Regions from separate parts of the Homo sapiens genome. Here region 1 is linked to region 2. Evidence: promoter capture Hi-C in 16 types of primary human blood cells and fetal thymus (Javierre and others, 2016). All regions are on one chromosome and are shown on one strand. Each heading gives the region's core, a stretch centred on a gene start or on the middle of the fragment in contact. The rest is flanking DNA. Distances are from core to core; before and after follow the strand shown. Region 1 holds the start of CEACAM5 (CEA cell adhesion molecule 5). Region 2 holds the start of CEACAM1 (CEA cell adhesion molecule 1).

Evidence for each region. Contacts are between HindIII fragments. The CHiCAGO score rates a contact against its expected background, and 5 or more counts as called.
Region 1: the fragment with the promoter of CEACAM5 here is called in contact with the fragment with the promoter of CEACAM1 in region 2 in 3 of 17 cell types (neutrophils, erythroblasts and naive B cells); the score reaches 11.5 in neutrophils.

What each region holds. Positions count from the first base shown.
Region 1 is chr19:41,702,634-41,709,875 of GRCh38, reverse strand. It overlaps CEACAM5 (CEA cell adhesion molecule 5), which reads right to left and starts at 1,250. Exons shown (of 10, transcript NM_004363.6): 1 at 1,081-1,250; 2 at 1-196. The coding sequence starts at 1,144. RefSeq lists silencers at 2,860-2,909, 2,940-2,989, 3,010-3,129. The HindIII fragment of the contact is 18,236 bases long and covers 1-7,242 here.
Region 2 is chr19:42,527,231-42,534,168 of GRCh38, reverse strand. It overlaps CEACAM1 (CEA cell adhesion molecule 1), which reads left to right and starts at 5,688. Exons shown (of 9, transcript NM_001712.5): 1 at 5,688-5,858; 2 at 6,769-6,938. The coding sequence starts at 5,795. All of the region lies in intron 2 of LIPE-AS1 (LIPE antisense RNA 1), which reads right to left. RefSeq lists enhancers at 4,526-5,388, 5,611-5,680. The HindIII fragment of the contact is 21,112 bases long and covers 1-6,938 here.

The DNA.
Region 1 (7,242 bases), core at 1-2,500, 820 kb after region 2:
TGAGTTCCTATTACATATCCTATAATTTGACGGTTGCCATCCACTCTTTCACCTTTGTACCAGCTGTAGCCAAAAAGATGCTGGGGCAGATTGTGGACAAGTAGAAGCACCTCCTTCCCCTCTGCGACATTGAACGGCGTGGATTCAATAGTGAGCTTGGCAGTGGTGGGCGGGTTCCAGAAGGTTAGAAGTGAGGCTAGGAGAGAGCAGAGAGCATCGGTCAATATTGGGACCTATGCATTAGGGTGGAAAAATGGGGTCCTGGGTCCTGAGCAGGTCTCTTCATCCCCCAGCCCTGGAGTGAGTGAGTGTGTGTGTGTGTGTGTGTGTGTGTGTGTCCTACTAGGTCAAGGTCAGCAGTGTGTCTCCTATTTCCTTAGCACCTCTGACCTTGGCATTTCCCTGTGTGGAATCTGCTTTTCCAGGGGTCTTCACGGCTCCCTCCCCATTGCCTTCAGGTCCTGCTCACATCAGGGCATTCTTGGGAGATCCCTTCCCTGACACCTCCTCTAGAGACCCTGGGTCTTCCTTTTCTGACCTTTCCCTGCTCTATTCCCTCCAGGGCTCTTGTCAACACCTGACCTCACATTCTAGATCTCTTTGTATGTCTGTCTTCCTCCCCATGAGAGCATGAGCTTCATGAGGGCAGGGATTTGTGTGATCTTGGTTGCACCCCAGTGCCTGGGACAGGCTGCAGATTCCTGTGGATGAGTTCATGAGGGTTCCCAGGGCCCTCCACAGCCTGGGGCTTATTTTCCAATGTCCGCGGTAGGCGGATGAGGACAGTGTTTCATGCCCTGGTTATGTTTTTATTTAAAGTGTCATCTGATGCAGTTATTATGATTTTTAAAAACGTAGTGGCCAGTGACAATTAACTAGGAAAATAGAACTCTTGAGGTTTTCCTGCCCCTTTCCAATTCCAGTTCAATTTGATTTTTCTGGTGTGACTCCTGTCCCTCTCTGATGTCCTCTTCCCTATTCAGGCTCCAACAGGAGCCCTCTGTCCGTCTCACAGCCCTGTCCTACCCAGGAGACCCCAGCTCCCTCCTCCCACCCTCTCCCAGGTTGTCCTCCCTTCACCTGTGAGCAGGAGCCTCTGCCAGGGGATGCACCATCTGTGGGGAGGGGCCGAGGGAGACTCCATGGTCTCTGCTGTCTGCTCTGTCCTCCTCTGTGGAGAAGAGCTTGAGTTCCAGGAACGTTTTGTCAAGGCTGCTGTGACTGTCTGGTCTGCTGTCCTTCCTCCCTCTGCCCTGAGTCTCTTCCTAGGGCAGGAGTACTTCTCAGCATCACGTGGGTCATGGGTGTGGTCTTTATTCAGGTGTCCTCTGTCCCCTCCCCTCTCATTTCTGCCTCTTTTGTCCCTCCTCTTTTTTCCCTTCTATTTTCAGTTCCTCAGACAAATCTTTTCGGCAAGGTGGATGGACCCCCATCCCCTGGGAGGACAACCTGTCTTCCCCAGTGCTGACCTCTGCTGTGTTCTGTCCTTGGGTCTGTCACACCAGGGGGATTATTTTCCTTTGTGACAGAGAAACCCAGCAGGGTCCCGGGTCTCCCCATGCTCTCCAGGGCTCTGGGAAGGTGGGATGATGCCCAACAGGAAGGTGACAGAGGTGGCTCTGGGGGCTAGAAAAAGGCTCACTGGGTGGTGGCTGGGGAGGGACCAGCCCTCTGTCTCCAGTACCACCAACCCCGCCACTGACCCAGGGATGGAGACCCAGGCCCAGAGGTCTCAGGAGTCCCCAGATCCTGCATGTGGAGGGGGAGGTGTCTTGTGTGTCCTGGAAAGAGAGGACTGTGGTGGAGGGAGGTGGGTGACTCTGGGCTCTGCTGTCCTTGGGGAAGGCTCCAGGGGGACCCTCCCTCTCCGTGTCTGTTGGCTGAGCTGCGGCTCAGGGCCTGTCCATGTTCTCCCTGACAGTCCTGGGTGGTCTCTGTCCTCTGCGAGGCTGACTGTCCTGTGATCACCCCACCTTCCCCATGGTGGTACCAGGAGGGAGTCTGGAGTTGCACAGGGACCCCTGGCAGAACAGGGTCCTCATAGGACCCAGAAAGGAACAGAGCAGGTATGTGGGAGAGATCAGAAGGGTCTGTTGGAGCAAGGGATGGAAACCAGGCTCCACCTCCACTTCCTTAGCAAAGCCAGGTTCCTGTCCAGGGGAATCCGTTTCCTGAGTGATGTCTGTGTGCAATGTCACCCCCTGGAGGGCAAGAGGAGACCTCCGGCCTTGTCTGGAACTGCCCTAGGGATGCTGACCAGGGTCGACGTGGTGTGAGCTGACCCTGAACTCTGGATTAGGCTGCAGGGTCAGGCCGGAGGATCTATTCCCTGCAGGCCTCTGTCCTCCCTTCTGAAGCTCTGGGGGTTGAGGCCTCATTCCTGGGGCAGCCGCGGGCACTTGCTGGCCTCCTCCCATGCTGGTGCCAGTGCCCCTGTGTCCACATGGAACAGACTCTGACTGCTGGGGGCCACACGGAGGTGATATGCTTCTTTTTAGAGATCTCCCACACATTTAACCAGTATTTATGGAGCATCTGTTCCGTGTCAGGCACTGGGCTGGGCCCTGGGATTCCACAGAGAGCAGGACAGACGTGGTCCCTGTCACAGAGTTTTCCTGTAACCGGGAGACAGGCGCTCAGTGAACTTCATGGGACTGAGGAGTTAATGGTAATGACAGGGCTGTGAGGTGACAGCATAGGGGGCGTCGGAGCCTGTGAGAGACTGAGCTGTCCTGGAGATCACAGGGAGCTGCCCTGGGAGACGCCCTTTCAGCTGAGCCCGGGGAAGGAGGGGGTGTAGGGGACAGGAGCTGCCTGCAGAGGGCAGCCGACAGGCCTCAAGTGGGCGGCCGACAAGCCTCAGGTGGGCGGCCGATAGGCTGCAGGGAGGAGCTGACAGAGTCCGTGTGAGGAGCTCGGAGGGCGAGGAGGACGTGGGCCGAGGTGACCCGGGTGAGGGTGGACCCTGCTGGGCTGTGGGCCCGGCTGAGGGAGGTCAGCAGCCCCTGGGGAGGCTCCAGGGTGGGAGGAACTCTGCCGCCCTCTGGTGGACAGGAGGGAAGTGGGGACAGCAGCGGCCCCAGACCAGGCTGTTTTACTCAACACTGATCTCTAGACATTGAACACGGGTCATGCACATGTTATGCCAAAGTGCTACCAGGTTTCAGCTCGGTGAGCCCCAGTCTCTGTGGCTACAAGTGTACTGTCCTCCCTCTTTCACAATCAGATGTCCCCAAATGCAGATTTTTGTCACCTTTTGTGACTTTGCTTTTGTCGGCAGGAGGCTGCGCTGTGCATGCTCCCAGGGGCAGTGATGTCTGGGGCTAAGCGTGTGCGGGGATCTGGGAGTAGAAGATTGTATTAGTCTGTCCTCGCATTGCTATAAAGAAATACCTGAGACTGGGTAATTTATAAAGAAAAGAGGTTTAATTCGCTCATCATTCTGCAGTTGTACAGGAAGCATAGTGGCTTCTGCTCCTGGGGAGGCCTCAGAAAACTTACAATCATTCTGGACGGTGAAGGGGAAACAGGAACGTCTTACATGGCAGAGCATGAGTAAGAGAGAGAGAGAGAGAGGGGAGAGGTGCTACACACTTTTAAACAACCAGATCATGTGAGATCTCTATCACAGAAACAGCATCAAAGCAGAAAATCCACCCGCATTATCCAATCACTTCTCACAAGGCCCCACCTCCAACATTGGGGTTTACAATTTGACATGAGATTTGGGCGGGGACATAGATCCAAATCATATTTGAGAGAGAGGGGCATGAGGAGAAGGTGAATGTTGGGGTAGCAGAGAGGAGCAGGGACAAGTCAACCTCACTTCTCACTCCCTGGGGACCAGAACAGGAGAGCCCGACTCTGGGGGCACAGCACCACACACTCTGTGTGTCCGTGCATCAGGGGAGGTGGGAGCTGCTTCTCTGTTCATGGGACCTGGCCTCACCTGCTGAGATGTCTTCACACTTAGTCCCATCCTGGGCTGCAGCCCCACAGAGCCTGTGTCCTCCTCTCCTCTCCTGCCCATTCCTGGATTTTTCTTCCTGAACCATCTTCTCCCATCTGTGGCTTCACCTGCTCCCGTTTCAGGCAGCTGCCCCTGGATCATTGCCCTGTCACCATCTCTGGGCTCACTGGCCTCTGCCATTTGTTCTGAGACTTGAGCCCTGAGCCCTGAGCCCTGTGAGGGAGGAAGAGTGAAGTGGGGTGGGCGCTGTCCAAGGTGCTGCCCTCTCTGGACAGCTTGAGTGAGGGACCCTGATGTGTCACCTGGGAGGAGGCTCCGGGAGGGAGCTGTGTCAGGGATGCCTGGATCAGGGGGATGGGGCACCTACACCAGGGTGAGCTGGACCTGTGGACTGCAGGAACCCTGCTCTGTGTCATCCATCAGCTCCTCGAGCCCCGTCTTCCTCTCTGTACCTGATTCTCTGGTGTGATCCCTGAGCCCGCGCTAGAGTCCTCCTCACAATGCCTAATGGTCAGATCTATGTGTGGAGACCTAACGGTGGGGGGGTGGGGAGGTCTCGTGTGCTCACACAGAGTGCCCTGGGGACAGGCTTTATGACCTCCCTTGTCCCAATCCCACAACAAGATCTGGACAGTGGGCCGGGTCAGATAAAGTCAGAATCCACGAGAAGGGTGTGTGTCCTGGCAGTGCTGAGGTTTGTGCCCCCAGCTTTACTCTCAGTCTGTTTGCAGATACATTTATGTTGTGCACCTGCAGTTGGCTGGGAAGCCTCATGTCCTTAAATCCTTAGTTATTCCTGTGCAGGTCATGAGGGGCCTGTACCTGGGTACAATGAGGACTATCTGATTAGGGTGGGTGTATTTTACATGGTGGGCTTTCCCTCTCCCAGTGTTTCTTGGATGTAGTCAAATACATAAGATAAAATATGCCACATTAATCATGTTAAGTGTACAATTAAATGCCGTTAATTATATTCACAATATTCTACATCCTCACCACTATATTTTTTTTTCCAGAACATTTTCATCATCTCACATAGAAACTTCATACTATTAATCATTAACTCTCCACCTTCCCCTGCCCCTAGCCCTTGGTAGCCACTGATGCTATCTTTCTCTTTTTTTTTGAGACAGAGTCTCATTCTGTCACCCAGGCTGGAGTGCAGTGGTGTGATCTCGGCTCACTGCAACCTCTGCCTCCCGGGTTCAAGCAATTCTCCTGCCTCGGCCTCCCAGAGGCACCTAGGTGACCTAACTCTTAAGAGCCTGGGGCCGGCAGGTGGGTGTCCTAGGCATAAATGGTGCCCACTGGACTGGAGGAAGGTGAGAAGCCATGGGTATTCCATGTCTTCTCCCAGCTTCCCAGCTCCTGGGTTGGTGCTGTCCTGCAGTAGGCAGTGGGTAGATGGGCATGGCTGCACGTTAGGCTGGGAAACATGTCGTCCTCTCAGACATTGTCACTGCAGAAGGAGGATTCTGTTCACAGGCCTGGTATGGGCATATGGGAGAGACCACCCTGTTCTCATCAGGGGCTTAGACACTGGTGTTCCCACTCCTGGTGCTGCCTCCTGCTTTCCCTGCCCTGGCCCTCAAGGAAGAGCGGCTCCTGGTCAAAGCTCCATCTCTCTCTCTGAGGCTTCAGCATGGTCTCATTGGTGCAGGGGTCTGGGTAAACCTCAGAGAGAGAGGCTCTGAAGAGCGGGGCACCTGCTGGGGATGCAGAAGGGTCCCCACTATGCTTAAGGGGAGTAATCCTGAGGGTCCCAAGGCTCCTCACCACTACCAGGTGCCAAGAAACTCCCAGCAAATTGGGGCTGCCTTGTGGCGAAGCACCTCCAAGCCTCGCTGCCTGCCATGTGCAGTGATTGGTGGATCCCAGTTAGGGGCATCTTGGCAGGTGGTCACAGATTCAGGGCTGGACTTGGTGCTCACAGTCCATATGTGTTGTAGACCCCAGGCAGGGTTCTGTGGCATGGTTTTGGATGTTCACAGGTATCTGCCCTGGAGAAGTGGGCAGTAATTTGACTTCCAGAAGTTCTTGACATCTGCAGATCCGGGCGACAGCCAAGTGTTCAAGGTTCCAGTGACCACTGGTGTGAGGGCACAAGGTAAGCATCAGGCCACCAGTGAGGCTCACCACCCTCCAGGCTGGTGCCCCTGGGAACAGGAGCGACATTCTAGGAACACAGCTTTATCGAGCAAGGTTAAGCTCCCTAGCCCCCTATTTTGACCAGGGAAGCTCAGGCCTCTGCTCTTCGTGGGGCTGGTTGCAGGCAGCTGACTTTGGGGAGGGGGCCCAGGAGCTGCCTTTAGTTTTGCATTTAAGATTTAAAGGGAGAAAAGACAATACATTCTGCCAGGGAACAAAAATTACAGGCAGCATATTGACTGAAGGGCACTCCTGTCATCACTGCAACACACATGGAATGCTTTTTCTAAGAAAAAAATATCTGATTTAGCTTTACCAGCAACTGTGATGCATGTTTTATTATTCTAGTTTACTGTTAGTGTAACTTTTGTAGTTTTAGCACTGGTAATAATTTTATATGGGCTCTCTTAGGATTTTAGACTCTCATTCATTCACATAAAGGTCTTCTTCTCTCTGAATAGTAATGCGATTTCCCTTTTTCTATTTCCTCTGCATATTCCTGTGTAGAGAGCATACAGTATACACCCTCAAGAGGTGGAAAGCATCTGACTAACAGAAAAAGGGTCCAAATGCTGCTGGTAATGGTGATGGGGACACAGGTGGAGGTAATTCAAAGAGGTGTGAGAAAACTTATCTTGAGAACCTTCTCCTCAAAAATCACATGGAGAAGGCACCTCTTAGGCCTGTCACATTGTTGAAATGGACAAGGGACAGAAATAGAGGTCATTAATTCGAGGATCAAATCCAAGAGTGGGCAACTGATTCTTCCCAGTGTCTAAGAGGTGGATGGGTGAATGGTGAGAATATTAAAAACACCCTTCCTCTCTTCCTCCTAATGAAGGAGCACCCAAAGCTCTCAGGAATCAGAGAGGGCCCAGGGCTGGGGAAGCAGGGCACTGTCACCACACAGGGGTTGGGAGTGAGACACCAACACTATCCAGTCAGTGATAACATTTACTTAGGGGGATAGATTCTTCTTTAAGGAATGATCTAAAAGTATATGAATTTGAACATAAAGAGAAAAAAGAGCATAAAGCACTTCTAGCCTAGATTTTTCCTCTTAATAAAACATGTTTTCTAATGACAGATGTGGCTATGTTCATGGCTGAGATGTCTCCTAGATG
Region 2 (6,938 bases), core at 4,439-6,938:
TCATTTAGACAAATATCCATCTGAGTCCTTTGCCCATTTTTGTTGTTGTTGTTGAGATCGAGTCTCACTCTGTTGCCCAGGCTGGAGTGCAGTGGCACAATCTTGGCTCACTGCAAGCTCCGCCTCCTGGGTTCACCCCATTCTCTTGCCTCAGCCTCCCAAATAGCTGGGACTACAGGCGCCTGCCACCACGCCCGGCTAATTTTTTGTATTTTTAGTAGAGACAGGGTTTCACCGTGTAAGCCAGGATGGTCTTGAACTCCTGACCTCGTGATCTGCCCGCCTCAGCCTCCCAAAGTGCTGGGATTACAGGCGTGAGCCACCGCATCCAGCCCCTTTGCCCATTTTTAATCAGGTTTTTGGGTTTTTGTTATTATTGAGTTGTAGCAGTTCTTTATATTTTCTGGACATAAAACCTTATTCATATAATGGTCTGCAAATTTTTTCTCCCATTCGGTGGGTGATCTTTTCACTTTCTTGATAATGTCCTTTGATGCACAAAAGGCTTTCATCTTGATAAAGTCCAGTTTATTTTTCCTTTTGTTGTTCATGTTTTTGTGTCATATCTAAAAAGTCCATTGCCACATCTGAGGTGATAAAGACTTATCCTTATGTTTTCTTCTGAGAGTTTCTTATGATTTTAGCTCTTATACTTAACTCATTGATCTGTTTTAATTTTTGAATATGGTGAGAAATAGAGTTCCAAAATTTCATTTCTTTGCAGGTGGTTATCCAGTTGTCCCAGCATCATTATTTGAAAAGATTATTCTTCCTCCATTCAATTAACTTGGCACCTGTACTAGTCGGGGTCCTCAGAGAGACAGAGAAAACGGGATAAAGATATAGTTGTAGATATAGAAATAGATCTAAATATATGAGGGGATTTGTTAGAGGAATTGGCTTGTGTGAATACGGAGGCTGAGAAGTCCCATGATTAGCCAGTTACATGCTGGAAAACCAGGGAAGCTGGCAGCATGGCTCAGTTCTGACCAAAGAAGCCATGGTGTACCCTCAGTCCATGGCCAAAGGCCAAACAACCTGGAGTTCTAATGTCCAAAGACAAAAGGAAAAGGGTGTCCCAGCTCCAGGAGAGAGAAAGAGAGAATTCACCATCCCTCTGCCTTTGTGCTCTATCCAGGCCCTCAGCCAAGTGGATGGTGCCCACCCACAGTGAGTGAGGGCAGGTCTTCCTTACTGAGTTCACTGACTCCAATGCCAGTCTCTTCGGGAAACACCCTGACAGTCATACCCAGATACAAGGCTTTACCAGCTATGAGGGTGTCTCTTAATCCAGGCAAATTGACACCTAAAAAACCACAGCACCCTTGTCAAAGATCAACTGACTGTAAATGTGAGGGTTTACTTCCAGACTGTCAAATCTAATCCACTGGTGTAAGTGTATCTTTATGCCAGTTCCACACTCTTCAGATTACAGTAACTTTGTAGTAAATTTTCTTTTTTAAAAAATGTGCATAATCATAGGGTACAAGTCCAATTTTGCTATTCTGATATATTGCATTGTGGTAAAGTCAAGGCCTTCAGTGCATTCGTCACTGGAGCAAGGCACACTGTACCCACCATATAGTAAGTTTTCGGATAAGGAAATGTGAGTCCTGGCCAGGCGCGGTGGCTCACGCCTGTAATCCCAGAACTTTGGGAGGCTGAGGCAGGCAGATCACCTGAGGTCGGGAGTTCGAGATCAGCCTGACTAACATGAAGAAACCCCGTCTCTACTAAAAATACAAAAAATTAGCCGGGCATGTTGGTGCATGTCTGTAATTCCAGCTACTCGGGAGCTGAGGCAGGAGAACCGCTTGAACCCGGGAGGCGGAGGTTGCGGTGAGCTGAGATCGTGCCATTGCACTCCAGCCTGGGCAACAAGAGTGAAACTCCATCTCAAAAAAAAAAAGAAGAAAGAAAGAAATGTGAGTCCTCCAGTTTTCTTTTTCAAGACTGTTTCAGCTATTCTATCTGTCTTTATTTTTTGTTAATGTATTTCAATAGTTCTTAATGGGGACCATTCCCTGACCTGCTTCCAGGGAAATCTGGCAATCTGGAGACCTTTTTAGGAACTTGAACTAAGTAGAAAAAATATTTTTTTTTCTTTTTTTTAAGACAGAGTTTCGCTCTAGTCACCCAGGCTGGAATGCAATGGCGCAGTCTTGGTTCACTGCAACCTCCGCCTCCTGGGTTCAAGCGATTCTCCTGCCTCAGCCTCCAGAGTAGATGGGATTACAGGTGTCCACCACCACGCCCAGCTAATCTTTGTATTTTTAGTAGAGACGGGGTTTCACCATGTTGGCCAGGCTGGTCTTGAACTCCTGACCTCAGGTGATCCACCCACCTCAGCCTCCCAAAGTGCTGGGATTACAGGCATGAGCCACCGCGCCCAGTCAATATCCTCATTTTATTTGCTGAGTTGCTATGTTAAAGTGTGAGTTGCCTGCCATGAATGAATGAAGAGACACTTAAAGCACTTGCCTGCATGACGATGTGCACCACCTTCTCTCTCCCCCTGTCCTGTGCCCTCAGGCCCTCTTCACCCAGGCCCAGGTGGCCCCATCCAGTGGCCTCTACAAATGGATTCCTCCTCAAGCTGGCCCACAGACCTTCCTTCCAGCAAGTGACTCACCTGCAACCTCCTCCACACACCTGAGCCAGCGGTTCTCAGTTCTTCTCTGAGGTCCCCCAGGAAGGGTGATGATCTCATGTAGGTTCACTCGCATTAGGTGACACATTCTCACAAACAAACTGGTCTGTGCAGTAAAGCACACAGCCACAACTCCTGAGGATGTTTTGCCATTGCCAAGTGTTGTCATGAGATGAGAGGTAAGAAAACAACATTTCACATCATGATTTAGCTCTAAATGACTTTTTTAATTGTATTTTTTAATTGACACCTAATAATTGTACATATTTATGGGTCCATAGCGATGTGATACATATAAGGTACAGTGATAAGGTCAGGGTGATTAGCATATCCATCATCTCAAACATTTAGCATTTCTTTGTGTTAGGAACATTCAATATCCCCTTTCTAGCTACTTGGAACTATATATTATTGTTAACTATAGTCAGGCCGGTTGCAGTGGGTCACACCTATAATCTTAGCACTTTGGAAGGCCGAGACGGGAGGATTGCTTGAGCCCAGGAGCTCGAGACCAGCCTGACCAACATAATAAGATCAGTCTCTACAAAAAAATCAAAACACTTGGCTGGGCATGGTGGCTGTAATCCTAGAACTTTGGGAGGCCTAGGCGGAGGATCACTTGAGCTTAGGAGTTCAAGGCCAGCCTGGGCAACATAGTGATACCCTGTCTCTTTATTTAAAAAAAAATTGAAAAATAAAACAAAAAATTAGCCAGGCGTGGTGGCGTGCACCTATAGTTCCAGCTACATGGGAGACTGAGGCAGGAAGATCACCTGATCGCAGGAGGTTGAGGCTGCAGTGTACTCCAGACCCTGTCTCAAAAAAAAAAAAAAATCTGTAGTCATCCTACAGTGGTATAGAACATTAGAACTTATTCCTCCTCCTATCTAGCTGTATTTTTTTTTTTTTTTTTTTTTGAGACGGAGTCTCGCTCTGTCGCCCAGGCCGGACTGCGGACTGCAGTGGCGCAATCTCGGCTCACTGCAAGCTCCGCTTCCCAGGTTCACGCCATTCTCCTGCCTCAGCCTCCCGAGTAGCTGGGACTACAGGCGCCCGCCACCGCGCCCGGCTAATTTTTTGTATTTTTAGTAGAGACGGGGTTTCACCTTGTTAGCCAGGATGGTCTCGATCTCCTGACCTCATGATCCACCCGCCTCGGCCTCCCAAAGTGCTGGGATTACAGGCGTGAGCCACCGCGCCTGGCCTTATTTTTTTTTAAGATGGAGTCTCACTCTGTCGCCACACTGAAGTGCAATGGTGCAATCTTGGCTCATTGCAACCTCTGCCTCCCGGGTTCCAGTGATTCTCCTGCCTCAGCCTCCAAGTAGCTGGGACTACAGGTGCCCACGACCACACCTGGCTAATTTTTTGTATTTTTAGTAGAGACGGGGTTTCACCATGTTGGCCAGGATGGTCTCAATCTCTTGACCTCATGATCCACCCGCCTCGGCCTCCCAAAGTGCTGGGATTACAGGCATGAGCCACTGTGCCCGGCCTATCTAGCTGTAATTTTATATCCTTTAACACATCTTTCCCTGTCCCTCCCTTCCTCTACCCTTCCCAGCCTCTGGTATGCTCTGTTCTACTTTTTCCTTCCATGAGATCAACTGTTTTTAGGTTCCACATATTAGTAAGAACATGTGATGTTTAACTTTCTGTTCCTAGCCCACTTCCATTCATGTTGCCACATGTGACAGGATTTCATTCTCAAGCCCCCAAAGGCACCTCACTGGGCCTTTGTTTTTTTGTTTTGTTTTGTTTTTGCTTTTGTTTTTCAAACCTCTGGGACAGATGGCTCCTTCTAAGGCAGCCCATCCCCCTGGTGGACAGTTCTCTCCAATCTTGACAGAAGTCCTCTGGACAACTCACGTCCTCTCCCTGGGCTCATCCTGCACCGCATGGAGCTGGGCAGCCTGGGGACCCGCAGTGAACAGGACCTGGGGTGACTTGACCTTGAAGCCTGGAGGTCAGAGCCCACATCTGCCCAGGGGTCAGGGCCAGCTCACATCATGTAGACCCTGGTCAGCATCCCTGGGGCAGCCCTTGACAAGGCTGCAGGCCTTGTCTTGCCCTCCAGGGGGAGACATTGCACACAGACAACACTCAGGAAACATTCCCCTGGTCATGAACCTGGCTTTGCTAAGGAGGTGAAGGTAGAGCCCACTTTCCATCCCTTGCTCCAAAACACCCTTCCAGGCCCTCCCATGTACCTGCTCTGTCCCTTCCTGGGTCCTCTGAGGACCCTGTTCTGTGAGGGGTCCCTGTGCAGCTCCCCATTCCCTCCTGGCACCACCTGTGGGGAAGGTGCGGTGACCACAGGACAATCAGCCTCGCAGAGGACAGAGACCACCCAGGATGGTCAGGGAGAACATGGACAGGCCTTGAGCCTCAGCTCAAGGGAGGGAGGGTCCCCCTGAAGTCTTCCCCAAGGACAGTAGAGCCCAGAGCCACCCACCTCCCTCTATCACAGTCCTCTCTTCCCAGGACACACAGGACACCTCCCCCTCCATATCCGGGAGCTGCAGCTCCACCTGAGACCCCTGGACTTGGGTCTCTGTCCCTGGGTTAGAGGCCAGGCTGGTGACACTAGAGACAGAGGGCTGGTCCCTCCCCAGTCATCCCCCAGTGAGCCCCTTTCCATCCCCCAGAGCCACCTCTGTCACCTTCCTGCTGGGTGTCTTCCTACCTTCCCAGCACACTGAAGAGCATGGGGAGACCTGGCAGCTCACTGTGTTGCAAAGAAAATAATTACCACATTTGGATATGCCAGGGTTCTCTGTGTGCTGCTGACAGACCCATAGCCAGGACACAATAGAGGTCAGTGCTGGAGAGGGGGGATCCTCCTCCCCTGATGGGGACAGAGGTCTCATCAGCCTTGATTCTCAAAGTGTGGTCTGGGAAACCAAAATGTAGACAGAAAGGAAAGAGAAAGTAAGGACAAAGGTAGGAATGAGAGGAGAGGAAACAGAGCTTCCTGGACAAACCCCGCCCCAGCACACATGATCAGACAAAGCTCTGGGCCCCAGGGAGGAGGCTCAGCACAGAGAGTGGAAAACAGCAGAGGTGACAGAGCAGCCGTGCTCGAAGCGTTCCTGGAGCCCAAGCTCTCCTCCACAGGTGAAGACAGGGCCAGCAGGAGACACCATGGGGCACCTCTCAGCCCCACTTCACAGAGTGCGTGTACCCTGGCAGGGGCTTCTGCTCACAGGTGAGGGGAGGACACCCTGGGAAGGGGCGGAAAGAGGGCGCACAGAGAATGGCTAGGGTCCTCTGGGGAGGATGGAGCTCTAAGAGGGGACAGAGGGCTTCTCTTGGAGCCAAATAGGAGAGAGGACATGAAAGGGATAGAGATCATAAAAGGAAAGTCTCAGTGATCTGAAACTGTTAGTGAATAAACAATCTCCCATTTTTTACCTTTTCCAACTGAATCATCAATGAGCAATAAATTTCAAAAACTGCTGACAATAATCACAATTTAAGTCAGCGTGACAATTAAGGAAAACATTTTAAAAGGGGCATTAAACAGAGCCCTGAGCCACCAACCTCAGATATTGGCAAATAAACCCCAGGACATGAAGAGCCCTGGGAATGCTCACTAACTCATCCACAGGAGTCTGCAGCCTATCCCAGGCACTGGGGTGCAACCAACATCACACAAATCCCTGCCCTCACGGAGCTCACGCTCTCATGGGTGGGGAAGACAGACAAGCAAAGAGATCTAGAATGTGAGGTCAGGTGTTGACAAGAGCCCTGGAGGGAACAGAGCAGAAAAAGGTCAGAAAGGGAATACCCAGGGTCTCTAGGGGAGGTGTCAGGGAAAGGATCTCCCAAGAGCACCCTGATGTGATCAAGATCTGAGGGCAGTGGGGAGGGAGCCATGCGGATCCCTGGGGAAGGGCATTCCAGAGAAATGACAAGGTCAGAGGCACTAAGGGAATGGGAGTCACACTGCTGACCTTGACCCAGTAGGACACACACACACACACACACACACACACACACACACACACACACTCCAAGGTGGAGGGGTGAAGACACCTGCTCAGGACCCAAGGCCCCATTTTTCTACCCTAATGCATAGGTCCCAATATTGACTGATGCTCTCTCCTCTCTCCTAGCCTCACTTCTAACCTTCTGGAACCCGCCCACCACTGCCCAGCTCACTACTGAATCCATGCCATTCAATGTTGCAGAGGGGAAGGAGGTTCTTCTCCTTGTCCACAATCTGCCCCAGCAACTTTTTGGCTACAGCTGGTACAAAGGGGAAAGAGTGGATGGCAACCGTCAA